Regions from separate parts of the Homo sapiens genome. Here region 1 is linked to region 2. Evidence: promoter capture Hi-C in 16 types of primary human blood cells and fetal thymus (Javierre and others, 2016). All regions are on one chromosome and are shown on one strand. The core of a region is centred on a gene start or on the middle of the fragment in contact, and the rest is flanking DNA. Distances in the headings are between cores, read along the strand shown. Region 1 overlaps CRTAC1 (cartilage acidic protein 1). Region 2 holds the start of CRTAC1 (cartilage acidic protein 1).

The links. Contacts are between HindIII fragments. The CHiCAGO score rates a contact against its expected background, and 5 or more counts as called.
Region 1: a contact is called between a fragment that was not itself captured here and the fragment with the promoter of CRTAC1 in region 2, in 1 of 17 cell types (M1 macrophages). The highest score is 5.3, in M1 macrophages.

What each region holds. Positions count from the first base shown.
Region 1 is chr10:97,941,312-97,948,566 of GRCh38, reverse strand. The region is part of intron 2 of CRTAC1 (cartilage acidic protein 1); the gene reads left to right. Among named protein-coding and RNA genes, the nearest start is that of MIR3085, 69 kb to the right of the region's middle. The HindIII fragment of the contact is 279 bases long and covers 1,245-1,523 here.
Region 2 is chr10:98,027,355-98,034,413 of GRCh38, reverse strand. It overlaps CRTAC1 (cartilage acidic protein 1), which reads left to right and starts at 3,793. Exons shown (of 15, transcript NM_018058.7): 1 at 3,793-3,965. The coding sequence starts at 3,942. The HindIII fragment of the contact is 20,576 bases long and covers 1-7,059 here.

The sequences.
Region 1 (7,255 bases), core at 135-2,634, 83 kb after region 2:
CCTGCAGCATCCACTGCCTCTCCTAGGTCTTTTCCTCTTGCTCACAAACATGCACAGTCCCAAAGCTTGGTGAAACCCTTGCTTAACCACGTGTCCCCCAGCACATATCTTAGGACTTTCAGAGCACTTTTTGTCCTAAATGACCCATCCACACTGTGGCCCCATCCACTCCCATGCACCCTCCTCAGTCTAGCTCTCCTCTCCTCTCCTCTCTAAGGAAACAGCTTTCTTGAAGGTTATCAGTGGCTTCCAAATTGCCAAATACACTTGCTTTTTCCAGTCCTTGGCCTTTTTGACCCTTGAAAGCATCTGACACTGTTGGCTACCCCTCTTATTTTAACCCTTGCCTTCCTGATTTCTGTGCTTTTTTGACTCTACTTTGTCTTAAGGGTAATTTACTTATTATAAGGAACAGAAACCTAATCACATTAGCTCAGAAGAGTTTTTTTTTTTTTTTTGCAATAATTCAGGGAATGCCATGGAATCCAATTGCCATTATTCTGCACTATCATTTCAATTCTCTTCCTTGGCCAATCCTTCATGCATACCAGACAATGATCTCCAAAACATTGTTTTGACATAACAGTATACCCTGCACGGAATCCTTCAGTAGCCCCCTATTTCCTAGCAAACACAATCTTCATCTATTTCTTAATTATTATTTTATTTATTTATTTTTAGAGATGAGGTCTCACTATTTTGCCCAGACTGATTTCAAACTCCTAGTCTCAAGCGATCCTCCCAACTTGGCTTCCCAAAGTGTTAGATTACAGGCATGAGCCACCATACCTGACCCAGAAAATATAAATCCTTAGTTTCATGCCACATCTTCCACAATCTTAGTTGCCCAGTACACCAAGACCATGCTTCTGTCTTTAAGTTCCCCCAATTAAACATCCTTTACCGACAATCTGTATCTGTCTACCTCATTCTTTTATTTCTCAGCTCCTTTAACATTTGGGGAATGCTTTGCATATACAGGCTTTTCACGGAACGTGTACTTTTCCAATTTGCTTTTCACTATTTTTCACTTCTGTCCAACACACACTTCTATGTTGTCCAGCTAGTCTACCCCGTATTCCCTAAACATATTTTTCTGTTCCTTGCTCACACCATTTCTTTCATAAATGCCTGACCCATATGTCTCTTACTAAAATCCTATACATCCTTCAAGTTCCAGATCAAACAAACCTTTATTAAAACTTTTACCCCAACAATTTTTGGCCCTCTGCCCTCTGAAAGCTTGGGATTGGGACCACTCCTTATTTGCTATACTAGGCTGGAGACTCTGAGCAGAGAATTACATCATATGCCATGTGCGTCCATCACAGTACCTCGCGGTGTGCCTGCCTAGAAATAGGATCCCAGAAGGGTGGAATGAAGTCAATGCCTGACTTATCTTTTTACTCTTAAAGAAGAGTGAAGCATTCATTGGCTCCTTGCCCCAACTATTCTGTCCCTAAATTGGCCTACCTCCTCAACTGAAAGAGAGATAAAGACCAACAGCTTTTTAGCTAGAAGCTTCTGGGTAGTTATAGCATGAAGGAAAGAAAGTTTGAATAGATATTTAAAGTGTTTTGTGACCAAGCAGTTAGTGATTTGCCTGAATCCACAGCAAGTGGGTGAGCTCTGGCCAGACTCTGGGATCCACTTGCTGATCTCATCGCTGCCAACTCTTAGTGTCCTCGAACCAGACCGTTTCGAGAACCTAGTGACTCAAACATTGTTCCAATTTCTGTGTTTACTTCTTTCTGGGGCTTCTGGAGGGGAATAGGGGGCCCTTGAGATGTGTCTAGAGGACACAGTGACTTGGTGGTCCCAGGGAAGCATTTGTTGTCTTCCATCAGGAGGCCCTGGTAGGTTTGTCTCCAGAATATGCAGACCCAAATGAGTCACTGTCATCTAAAACCACATCCTTATCCTTCCTGGCACTTCTCTTCCTGCATATAGGTGGATCCCAAGATGCCACTTTCACTGGCCTTGCTACTAGTTGAAAGCTACCAACCACAGGCTCCCAGCTCTTGCCTCTGGAGATGGACAGGTGACCCACCCTGAGCCAATCAGAGCTCTTTTCTGGGGTTTTTTACATGCAAACTGAGGAGAGAACACAATCTCCCCTCTGGTCCTGAAGCTGAGATGTGAGTCTGGGAATGCTGCCATAGTTGAAGTCTTGGGAAGGAGGATCATGTGAGAGAATGAGGTCCATAGGCAGAGAAAAGAATGAGAAAGAAGGAAAAGGAAGTGCTGACCACATCCTGGTTCCAGTCATCCAGAAGCCTAGCTGCACTTTTGCTGTTCCTGCAGTTTGGACATTTAAGCCAATACATTTCTCAACTAGTTCACTTGCAACCAAAGAATCCTGATTAACACAGCCTCCATCTGTCACCTGAATCCCTTCTTTGACAGTTTATGGGAATTCCTGACTCCCTGTCTTCTTCTTTTCCTAGAAACATGCATTGAGAAATGGAGTTATGGTCTTCGTCATCATCAGCAAACATGACTGAGCACTTGGTCTTTCCTGGCACTGGGCTAGGTGTGATGGGGAATAGAGCTGCATAGGATAGTCCCTGCCTTCTGTGTGCCTCTATGCTCATGAAAATATAAGAAATTCCGAGGGCATCGAGCACATGCTGAGCACAGATCTTTTTAAGAACAAGGCCGAAATCAATCAGTCTGTGTGGAGTTTTTACAGAACACAGACACCATCACTGCAGATTATTCTGACCTTTTGGTGCCAACCATCCCTTTCTTGAAAAACCATCTGCCCCTTAGGACAAAAGGTTTTTCTCTTTTTTCTTAAAGTTACCTTCTTCAGTAGAGCACTCTATTTGTGGAGTCTTCTCCACTCTGGCCAGCTCCTAAATCAGGATCAAATCTGATTTTGTTATTGTTATTTTTCCAACCTTACCCAATTTATTCCCTAGCGGAACCCTGCCCCAGATTTCTCATCACGCCCAGAACCTTCCCATTACCAAAGTCTCTATTCCTTTAAACTAATATATGGCCTCTGGATATATCCTATTCCAGGATACATTCTGTGAATCTCCTGTTTGAATGTCTTCCCATATGTTTTCTGGTCCTATTTAACTTAAATGGCTTTCAAAGAATAAAATGTGTAAAAACAAACAAAAAAAAGAGCATTACACACATTTCCAAAGAAATGATCTATTCTCAAGAGTGTGCATTCAAAATGGGAAACATTTAGATATGGTTAGAAAGGAAAGAAGAAAGAGAAAGAGGAGTAGAAAAACAGGAGTTTCTGGGATCCCTGTATTCTTATTACCCTTCCACCCTCGGGCTCTGCACAGACCTTCCCATATCCTCAGATCCAAGTACCAACACAACTAGTCCAGGCCTCCCTTGGGGAGACCTGCCTACTGTGAATTCAAATAGCCATCCTAGAGAATTCCACTGATTTATGAATAATCCTTTTTCCTACTTGCCAGAGATAAATTTTTCCTCTCCTTAGATCTGAGATGATAGGTCATCATTATCTACTTTCTTTTCTGAAAACTTAGGGGCTTAAAAACAATTTATTATTTTTCACTATTCTGCCAATCAGGAATTTGGAAAGGGCTCATCTGGATGGTTCTTCTGCTCCATGTGACATCAGCTGGTGTCACTCACTTAGCTGCATTCAGCTGTCAGTGAGCTAGGCTGGAAGATTTGAGAAGTTCTTGCTCACATATCAGATGCCTTGGTGCTCTTTCACATGGCCTCTCCATAGGGCTAGCTTTGATTTCAGAGCATGGTGGTCTTAAGGTAGCCAAATTTTGTATATGGTAACTGGCTTCCTCCAGAGACTAAGTGGAAGCTACTGGGCCCCTTGCAGGCTAGGCTCAGAACTGCTCCAACATCACTTCCACCGTCTTCTGCAATCAAGGCAAATCACAAAGCCAGCCCAAATTCAAGGGGAGGAGAAATAGACTCCATGTCTTCATGAGTGGAGTAACACATGCATACAGAGAAGAAAGGAAATGATGGTGACCATTTTTAGAGACCATCTACCACAACCTTTTTACCCCCTCACTTAGAGCACAAATGCTTTTGCTCATTTCTTAGCCTTAGATTAAATCCCTGTTTAGAGAACACTGTTGTCATTTTAAGCAACTCTTTTATCATTTTTTTTTTTTTGAGATGGAGTTTCACTCTTGTTGCCCAGGCTTGACAGCAATGGGGCGATCTTGGCTTACTGCAACATCTGCCTCCCCGGTTCATGCGATTCTTCTGCCTCAGCCTCCCAAGTAGCTGGGATTACAGGGTGTGCACCACCACGCTCAGCTAATTTTTGTATTTTTTTTAGTAGAGATGGGGTTTCACCATGTTGGCCAGGCTGGTCTTGAACTCCTGACCTCAGGTGATCCACCCACCTTGGCTTCCCAAAGTGCTGGAAGTACAGGCATGAGGCACTGCACCTGGCCCTTAAGCAGCTCTTCTCAGTTTCTTTTTCCCCCAAAGGTTATCTTGCCTTACAGTCGCCATCCTAAGACCTAAAATCTTTCATACATTTAACCTTCAGTCTCCCTGAAATACTTGCTTCAGGAAACTATGTATTCCCAAGTACTAAGCCCAAATTAATTTTTACTAAACCTTATTCTAATTTTTTGTTGTTATGATAATTATCATTTAAAATTTGTAATATACTCATACTATAAGGCTGACAATCCTGGAGACCAGGGATTGGCAATCTTTTTCAGTAAAGCGCCAAATGGAAAATATTTTCAGCTTTTGGCCATACGGTCTCTATTGCAATTAATCAACTTCAATATTTAGCAAAAGCAGCCATAGATAGTACATAAGTGAATGAGTATGTCTGCATTCCAATAAAACCATATTTACGAAAATGGAAGCAGACCATTTGGCCCACAGGCCATAGTTTGCTGATCCCTGCTTTAGACTAAGGGATAAGTTTGTCTTTCCATTTATTTTATCTAATGACCAGCTGTTTGACTTTAGAAGTCACTTTTCTCAGAAACTTTGTGTATCTATAAAATGAGAGTATCAAAGTGACCAACAATAAAATACTCCTGTGTGCCCATAGTTGTGAAAATGCAACACATTTTTAAAAACGTTTAGAGGAAATGCCCCAAGTGGCCACAAGATGGAATTATTTCTCTATGATCATATCTCAGAGTCCTGTTGATGTGTCCATGACTTCGAGACTTTCTAGGGGTCTCTCCATTTGTCTTTGTAGATCTGCAGATGCCCTTTTTCATGTGGCTCCCTTTATATGGGTAGGTGTCTTTACCTCTGTATCTATGTTTACTTAAAAGGTTTTAGGTATGCTCTGATATCATTTTCTCTGTGCTTGTCGGCTTCCTCTTCCCTTTTTGTATATTTCCTCATTTCCATTTTTGTATATTCCATGTGTCTCTGGTCTCGGTCTTGCACTCTTTGTGCATTCATACATCTCTCTCTTCTTTCTGCCCTGACTCTCTATCTTGACTATACTACTGAATAGATATATTCTTTTCACTTTTCACTTTTTTTTTTTGAAGACAGGGTCTTGCTCTGTTGCCCAGGCTGGAGTGCAGTGGCATGATCACAGCTCACCACAGTCTCGACATCCTGTGCTCAAGCAGTCCTCCCACCTCAGCCTCCTGAGTAACTGGGACTACAGGAATGCACCACCACACCCGGCTAAATTTTTTATTTTATTTTTTTGTAGAGACAGGTGTCACTATGTTGCCCAGGCTGGTCTCAACCACCTGGGCTCAAGGGATCCTCCTATCTCGGCCTCCTGAAGTGCTGGGATTACAGGCATGAGCTACCATACCCAGCCTTTTTTTTTTTTCACTTTTTAATGGAAAAAAAATTTTAATGAAAACAATTTCTCTGTTCTTAATTTTCAAACAGATAGCATATTTTCTGTATCTTTCAAATCTAAAAAATGTTTCTATTTATATATAATGAAATGTCATATGTAAATTACTTAGCACAGTTTCTGGTATATAATAGGTGCTCACATCCTTCTATCTGGCTTCCCCTTATGTGACTCCCTAAGCGATTTTTTTCACATAGGTCAAAGATTCTAAGCGAAAAGAAGTCGATCCTCCATAACTATAGCATTTGTTGTTTTCTCTCCTCCTCACCCAGGACACCAATTCTTGGTGCTGAAAGCTCTTTTTCATGACTATGTTTGTACATATATTAATATTTTGGGAATTGATGAAAGTGTAGAGTCCAAGAACAAACAAGGGATTGGTGGCCCAGTCAACCTTTTGTTCAGCTCTTTGTACCTTCCACGGGCTTCATCTCTTCCATTCACTCTGCGGTGGTTTATTAAGAGCTCACTATGGGCTGGATGATGGAGAGACAGGAGTGAACAAACCAGACACAGTCTCTGACCTCAGGAAGCTTATAGTTTACTGGAAGAGACAGGCAATAAACAAGTGAAGAAACAGGAATAGGTGCTGGATGCAGCGATGAGAATACCAATGAGGGAGATCTCTCTGAGGAGCCTCTGAAGAGGAGGCCAAGGGATGAGAAGGAGCTCACTGTAGGACCAAACAGGCGGGGAATGGTTGGAGAGTGTTCTGGGTGGTGGGAGCAATTCTGCAAGAGAGTGCTGGGTTGGGAAGCACTTGCCAGAATTCAAGGAGCTGAAAGGAGACCCTGTGGCAGAAGGAGGCCAGTGAGGTAGGGGAGCAGACCATGCGGGCTCCAAGGCCAGGAGTGATCACAGGTCTGGGTTTCATTCCCAAGCAATGGGAAGCCACCAAAGGGTTTTAGCTATGATCTGATTTATGCAGTAAAAAAGATGACTCTGGCTACAGTGTGGGGGAGTTAAATTAGGGGACGGTCAAGTGAGGCAACAGAGAAGGGTGTCTGCCCAGAGATGGTGGCAGTGGAGGAGGAAAGAAGAAAAAGGATTTGTGAAACATTTTTGGAGGTAGAAACGACAGGATGGGCCAATTAATGAGAGGCGAAGACAAAGGGGAGGGACAGCCAAGTCTGACGCAGGTTCCTGGCCTTAGTATTTGGGTGCTCCTTTGTGGGAGGGAGGGGTGGAGTGGTCAGTAGCTCCACTTTGAACATGTTCTATTGGAGGTGGCAGTGGACGTCCAAGGGGTGATGTCAGGTAGCCAGTCAGAGATATGCATCTGACCTGGGACTGGGGATTTGGGTTGGAAGTATGAATTTGGAATTGTCAGTCAGGGTAATGAACATTATCCCATAGTGAAAGGGGAGAGAAAGAAGAGAATGCCCAGGACTGGGGACTCCAACATTAAAAGGGAAGGGAGAGGAAGAAGGA
Region 2 (7,059 bases), core at 2,544-5,043:
TCTTCAGTGTTTCCTACAGTTTTTGTCCTGTCCTTAACTTGTTGCATGACTGTTAGCAACTTGCGTAAAGTCCAACCTCTCTGATCCTGGACTTTAGAAGAAAACTAGCTCCTGAGAACTCCTGCTCCAGTGATGTTGATGATGACTAACACACACAATACATCTTGAGTTTTTAGAAAATGAAGTACTGTACAGCTTTAATAGTATTTTTAAGTAAATAGGTTTAATTGGAATAACTCAGCAAATATCTAATGTGTGTTCACTCTGTGCCCAGTTTCATGCTGGGTTCTGTGAGGTAGTCAACTGCAAGGTACAAACTCTGGACTTCAAGGGGCTCATATTCTGATAGGGAGGCCAAGTATCACTGAGTGAAAAAAAGCTAATGTGCATCACAGGTGATAAGATGGTGTAGACCTGCAGGAGAGCTGAAAACTGCTGGCCAGGGCAGTTTTGGAAGGTGGCGCAGGAAGGAAGACTTGGTTTGGGTATGAACAGATGAGAAAACAATTTAAGCACGTTCCCCAGGTAAGAATGAAGAAGTCTGTGGGGGAACACTCTGAAGAAAAAACAACTTCACTGGGGTCAAAGGACTGGAGCCTGAACAAGATGCATGGGGTAAGGGTGTGCTGAAAATGTGTGTATTAGTCAGCTCAGACTGCCATAGCCAATACCACAGACGTGGAGCTTAACCACAGAAGTTAATGTTCTCACAGTTCTGGAGCCTGGAAGTCCCAGATCAAGGTGCTGGCAGGTCTGGTTTCTGCAGAGGCCCTGCTCCTGGCTTGCAGATGGCCTCCTCCTGTTACTCAGGCAGGCTTTCTCCTGAGGATGCACAGAGAGAAATGGGAGATCTCTGGTATCTCTCTCTCTTCTTACGAGGACACTAGTCCTATTGAATTAGGGTCCACCCTTATGATCTCATTTTGCCTTAATTGCCCCTTTAAAGGCCTTATCTCCAAATGCAGTCACACTAAGGGTTAGGGCTTCACTATGTGAATTTGGTCCGGAGAGGCACAATTCAGTCTATAACCGTGTGCATGTGCCTCAAGAAAGCTGTGTTTGGGCAATGTGGGAGGACAAGAGGTCTCTCACGGGATTGGGGGTGGGGAAGGGCTGGAGCTCTGAGCAGACACTGACATGAACTGAGCAAATGGACATCGAGGACATCAGAGAAATGAGAAATTTTCCAACCAGGACTGCCTGGCCCACTGGGCTAAACCCTCACAAGTTCAAGTGCTGAAGCCAGATTGTATTCCCTGGAGCACTTCCTGGCTGGAACATCTCCATCATTTCCTGCATTTTTCTGTCCTTCCCTAGCACCTTTGGTCTGTTGTAACCTTACCTGGCTAGCTGCAGGAAAGTGTGAGATTATTACAGAGTTATTTTGCACAGAGCACCTATTCACATCTGGTTGGCTAATGCTGATAATTACCGTGCTGGTTACTAAATCTGTCGGGTCTGGGTGAGGTGAGGCGCTACAGCTGGGGCTGCTGTGCACAGCTTCACCGGAGAAGAGAGAGGTGAGAACAAAAACCAAGAAAGGTGTGCTCAGATGTTTGGGATTGAGTGAAACTGGTTAATTACCAGTCACTTGCTGTCTCCCTGAGTTGGAGTTTCTGGCTAAGGAATGCTCATAGATCAGACATAATATGACAACCTGCAACTTATTTCCACATTAAGAGGGTGGCGGGGACCAAGATGCAGAGAAAGTGTGGAGACAGTCTCTCAGGTGCCAGAGCCTTGGCCAGATGACTCAGATGCCCTCAGAACAAGGTGGTGGCATGTTCCAGCAGGGTGCAGAGCCAACTGGACTCCTTATGCAGAGAGCTGGGGATCAGATATGGCCTTGGGGGCAGAGTCTATTTGCCGATAGATGAAGGTTCTTAATCAGGGCCCTAGATTAAGTTTTAATGATCCACGAACCCTCCTAAAGTTGCATGTCAACATGTGTGTATGTGAGTGAGCATTTTTATAAGCAACAGATCCATAACATTTATGAGATTCTTGAAAGGTTCTAAAGGGTCTGTGATCCCCAAAAGGAGGGTGATTATAAACTACTGTCCTAGACCCCTGAAGAAACAGGTTGACATTGGACCGAGCCCCAAGAGACTCAGGGTTCCTAATGATCCTGAAAGTATACTCAAGGTGTGTGTGTGTGTGTGTGTGTGTGTGTGTGTGTGTGTGTGTGTAAATGTGTGTGTTTGTATATTTTTCTAGAAAAATGATTCAGTAATTTTTGCCAGATTTTCAAAGGGGCCCACAACCTTACAGGCTTGATGGGGGCTCAAAAAGCCAGAAAGTTTGTCTGTGCCTAGCTATTTCTTTTCAGAGGAAGATCACAGAGACCTGAAAACAGAGCCCAGACTAGGTCCTGGTAGTTCTGCTCAAAATCTGTGGATAACAGGGGCCAGAGGCTGGATGTGTGGCCCTCTATAAAAGAACACATTCAAATCATTCTAAGAGTCAAGGGCCCAGAAGCCAGACTAGTGGGTGATGGTCACAAAAGCGTCAACGGATGGGAAAACAGTCCTAGCTCCTTCCCTCTCCGATGGTGGATTCCCAAGTCTTTCTCTTCTGTGGCCCCTTTACCTGGCTTTCAGAAACCCAAAGACCTCACTCATGGAAGCTCAGAATTCATTCAATAAACACTGAGCGCCTACTATGTGCCAGGCTCTATTCTAGGCGTAAAATAAAGGATTTGCCTTCAGAGTGTGACCCACCAAGGCCAGTTTCCTGCCTGAACAGGGGTATTTTGAGCATTGCTGATCAAGTGTGTTTTTCTGGCGCTTAGCACCCCCATTCCCCTGGTCCAGAGAGGCAGAAACCATCCCCCCACCACCACCAAGGCAGCGGGTTGGGGGCGAGGAGAGGCGGGCAGTACCTGTGATCAAAGCGGTGAGGGAGGCTAGTAGGACGCAGGCGGCAGGAGCGGGTGGGCCAGGCCCGACTCGGCCACTGCTGGGGTAGGGACTAGGTGGGATGGGGTGGGGGCACTGCTGGTGGGGACGGGGTGGGGTAGAAGCGGCGCTGCCCGCAGCCGCCTGGGCCTCTGCGCGCCTGATCTCCGAGCTGCGCTCGCCCGCTCCCCGCCTGCGGGGGCCGTCGCGGAGCCCTGCTCTCCATACTGAGCAGTCCCCGGGAGGTGCTCGGACACGTCCCCAGGCTGGATAAAGATCGGCTCGGCTCTAGCTCCGTAGTCGAAATCTCGCCATCAGCGCGGCTCGCTCGGCCGCTTTGGCCCGGCCCGGCGACGCCAGATCGCTATCCTGGGGGGAAATGGGAAGGCAGTGCAGCCGCTCCCGCCTCCACCCTCGGTCCTGCGCGCAGGGGTGGCCGCGGGGTCCTGGGGCTCGCCGCCCTCCCCTCCCCCTTCGCGTTCCTTCCCTGCGCTGCCTCCCGAGGGACCCTCGCTTCCCTCCGGCCTGGGGCCCCCAGCGCCCAGCCAGGCGCCCTCTCCCCTCCTCGCCAGGCCTCGCTGCCGCCTGAAGGTTACGCGACGCAGTGGCGGGGCGCGGGGGGCGCCCGCCCTCGCCGCCGCCTTCGCCGCCGCCCACCCCAGTGGCCGCCGCGCCGCGCCGGGCCAGCCTGGCTGCCGGCTGCTGCCACCGCAATCCCGGCTCCTAAATCAGCGCGGGGAGGCGCTCCCTCCCCACGCCCGGCTCTCCGGGCTCTCGGGGCCGCGATTGGCCGCGCCGGCGCCCCCCACCCCGGGCCCCCGGCTCCAGCTGCCGCGCCATTGGCTGCGGGCCTCCGCCAGCCTTTACATAAGACCGGGCGCGCTCGAGTGGAGTTGTATAAAGCGAGCGCGCGGCGTCGGGGCGGGAGGCTCGAGGCCAGCCCGGGACCGGGGCTGGGAGCAAGCAGGCGGCGGCGCCGGCGGCAGAGGCGGCAGCGAGCGCCCGCTTCCCACGCCCCTAGGCGGCGGGGCCGAGAGCGGGAGGATGGCTCCGAGCGCTGACCCCGGCGTGAGTATCTGCACCGGTGCCCCCCACCCTAAGGCGGAGAAAGTTTCTCCAGCTCTGCGCGCCCCCCCGGATCCGCCCGCAAGGGTGGCGGGGACGCCGCCCGGGAACCCGGGAAGACTGGGATCGCGAAGGCGGCGGCTTCGCTCCTAACTTGCTGGGAGGCGCTGGACTCGATTGGCGCGCGGAGCCTCCCCCGCGGGCTGGGGGTGAGGCGGCGGCCGGGTTGGAGGTGGCGGAGAGGTGGGAGCTGATGTGTGGGGGCGACAGCCAGCAGCTGGCAGAGAAAGTGTTGGGGGCGCACTGGAGGTCAGCTGTCAGGGGAGGGGGCCTCTGGGGCCTGGAGGGGGCGGAGCGGGTGAGGAGGGATGTGCCGGGCTATCGGGAGAGTCTCCCAGTCAGCCAGGCTGAGACCCGGGCCTGGGAAGCCACTGGCCTCGGCCGAGTGCCTACGCTTCCAGGCTGGGGAAGAGCCCCGCGGGCTGGCTCTTCCTCCCCTGGGAAGCCGAGTTCCCGGGCACAGCGCTGGGTGGCAGAGAGCTCCGGGAGCCAGCCCCGCGCGCGGCGTAGCTGCTAGCCGCCTTATGCTGGACGAGGTGTGGTCTTCCCTTCAGGCTGCCTGAGGCAAGCCGGCTTCAGGCATTCCAGGGGAACCCTGAGTCCTCCTCGACCCCGTGGGGGCACTTGGAGGCTTTGATGGGGCAGCCAGGCCGGGCTTGGGGGCATGCCCAGCAATGCAGCGCGCTTCTTTGCAGTACAGTAGTTGGGAGCCCTGGTTAGTCCCGCTTCTGCAGAAAGCAACTCAAGAATCCAAAGTCATCCCAGCCTGGATGGAAGCCTCCCAGAGTGGCGGGGAAATTCTCCTAGGGTTGAGAGCTGGGGGGGCTTCCTCCAGGAATGACTAATGAATATTGCTGCTGCTGCCGCCGCCGCCGCCGCCGCCGCCGCCGCCGCCGCCGCTGCTGCTGCTGGTGGGTGCACCCAGTGTGGCTTCTGCACATCCCAGGAGATGCTTCCGTTCTCCTGACAGGACACATTCTTGAGTTGCACTTGAGGTGTCTTCTGGGATGGGTGCAGGACTTTCCACGTGAAGCCAAGTGGAAAAGAAGGGAAGAGGGTCCCAGGACAGGGGACAGTTCTATAGTGTTTTCTTGAGTCAGGGGAGAACTCATGTGGGAAGAGATAAGCGATTGACGGAGATTTGGAACCCAGACGACTTGGGGCTGGAGATGTCCAAGACTGAATTAGAGCTCATTGAGAGTCACAGAGTACCTCACCCTCAGCCATGGGGGAGAGGTGGAGGCTGGAAAAGTGGGAACATGGTGGCTGTTCCAGCATGGTTCTTGAGAAAATGTTCTCTCTCTCTCTCTGACTTGGTTAAGAACATCCTTCTGGCAGTAGGTCCTAAAGTCAATTTAAGAGGTAATGAAGGGAGTTGAGGGTCTTGATGATGGCACAGAGGACCACAATTAGAACATTTCCATTTCCGGTGGGTACTAATGGACTCTGGAAAAGGTCGAAACGGTGTGTAGGGAGTCTGGGGAACCTGCTCTGTGGCTGCTCATTTGAGCCTGAATCCTCCACCTTATCCCATCCCTGAATGTAGGTGGATGTTCAAACTCCTAGGGTACCTGCTTCAGCCTGGAGATATTTTATGGGTGCTATCAATCTATATCCCAACCCCCAGCTCCATCGTTGTCTGCTGCAGTCAACATTTTTCTGCTGCATTTCCCAAGACCTTCTCTCCACTGGGGATTTGTGCAGCGAAATACCTGCTTGTTGCTCTTTCTTCCCTTCTCCATCTGGGCTGCACCTGGTGTTCTGAACCCTGGTGTTTATTCCTTGGTACCTTGATGTTTGGTTAAGACGTCCTATGGCTGCGCAGGGGTGCCCCTGTAAATCTGTGGACCAATGGCCTGTGTAATTCTAGGGAGTGCAATAGACTTCTATAGAAAGAATACCACCAACCGGGAAGGCAGTCCTACTAAACAGCTTGTGACAGCCTCTCATGCTCAAGCGCTCCCTTGCTTCCGTGCTGAGGCGGTGGAAGCCTAAAGGTGGAGCAGACTCCTTGGTGTCCAGTAGGGGGCGCCAAAGGTACCTGGCTCAGGACCACTGACTTTCTCACTTCTTGCCCTTTACTGGCTGTAGCAACTTAATGCTTTAAGGCAGCTCAGGCTACAGCCTTCAACCACCACCATCGTACTTGGAATCCTTCTACCACATGCTTCCTGGGCTTCAGGTGGTCCTGTGACCTCGGGTGCTATGGGGCAGGTGCAAGCACAACATTCCAAGGAGACAGAGCTGGTACACAGCCCCACCCTCTCTCGGGGATCATTCCTTTGTGCTTGGTGCCGCTGTGTTCTTTGAACTCTTTAAGGGTTCATGGAGTTCCAGAACATTAGAGCCAGAAGCAAGGAGCCTTGGAGAGCATCTCATCCAACCCCATTCCATCCCAACACTCACATGCACATTTAATTTACAGATGAGAAAACTGAAGCTGGATAAAGCCAAGGTCACATGGCTATTTGGTGGAAGACATGGAACTAGGCCCTAGGATTCCCACTGCTCGATTCAGAGCTGTTTCCACTCCAGCGGCCTGCTTCCTCTTCACTATAAAGATGGACATACTTTCTCTATACAGTAGGCACTCATAGTTATTGACTGACCAGGCTTTGGTAAATTAATACATCCCATACAGTTGGGGAGATTCTATTTTGAATCTGTTTTTCAGAGTGAGGAGGTGAGGAGAAAATACAGTTCTTGTCATGGACATACACAGGTCATAGAAATTCCTAATTATTCTTTCCCTGCCTCTACAATCTCGTCTCATTATTCCAAGTGGTGTTTTAAGCAAAAGCCATGCAAGTCCAGGTTTCAGTCTGTGCATTTAGGAGTCAGAAGTGCCGAGTCCCTCACTGTGGTCTTGGAACCCAGGTCTGGAGCGCCAAGGAATGTTGGCGTGGGGTCTCTCTGCTTGCAGTCACACCACTGCTGGTGAGACCTCCCAGATTCAGATTATAGATGGATTGGAGAGTTTCCAAAGAGTATTTGCCTATTTCCCCCACCCTTGCTGCTCCCAGCTCAAGGTCAGAGT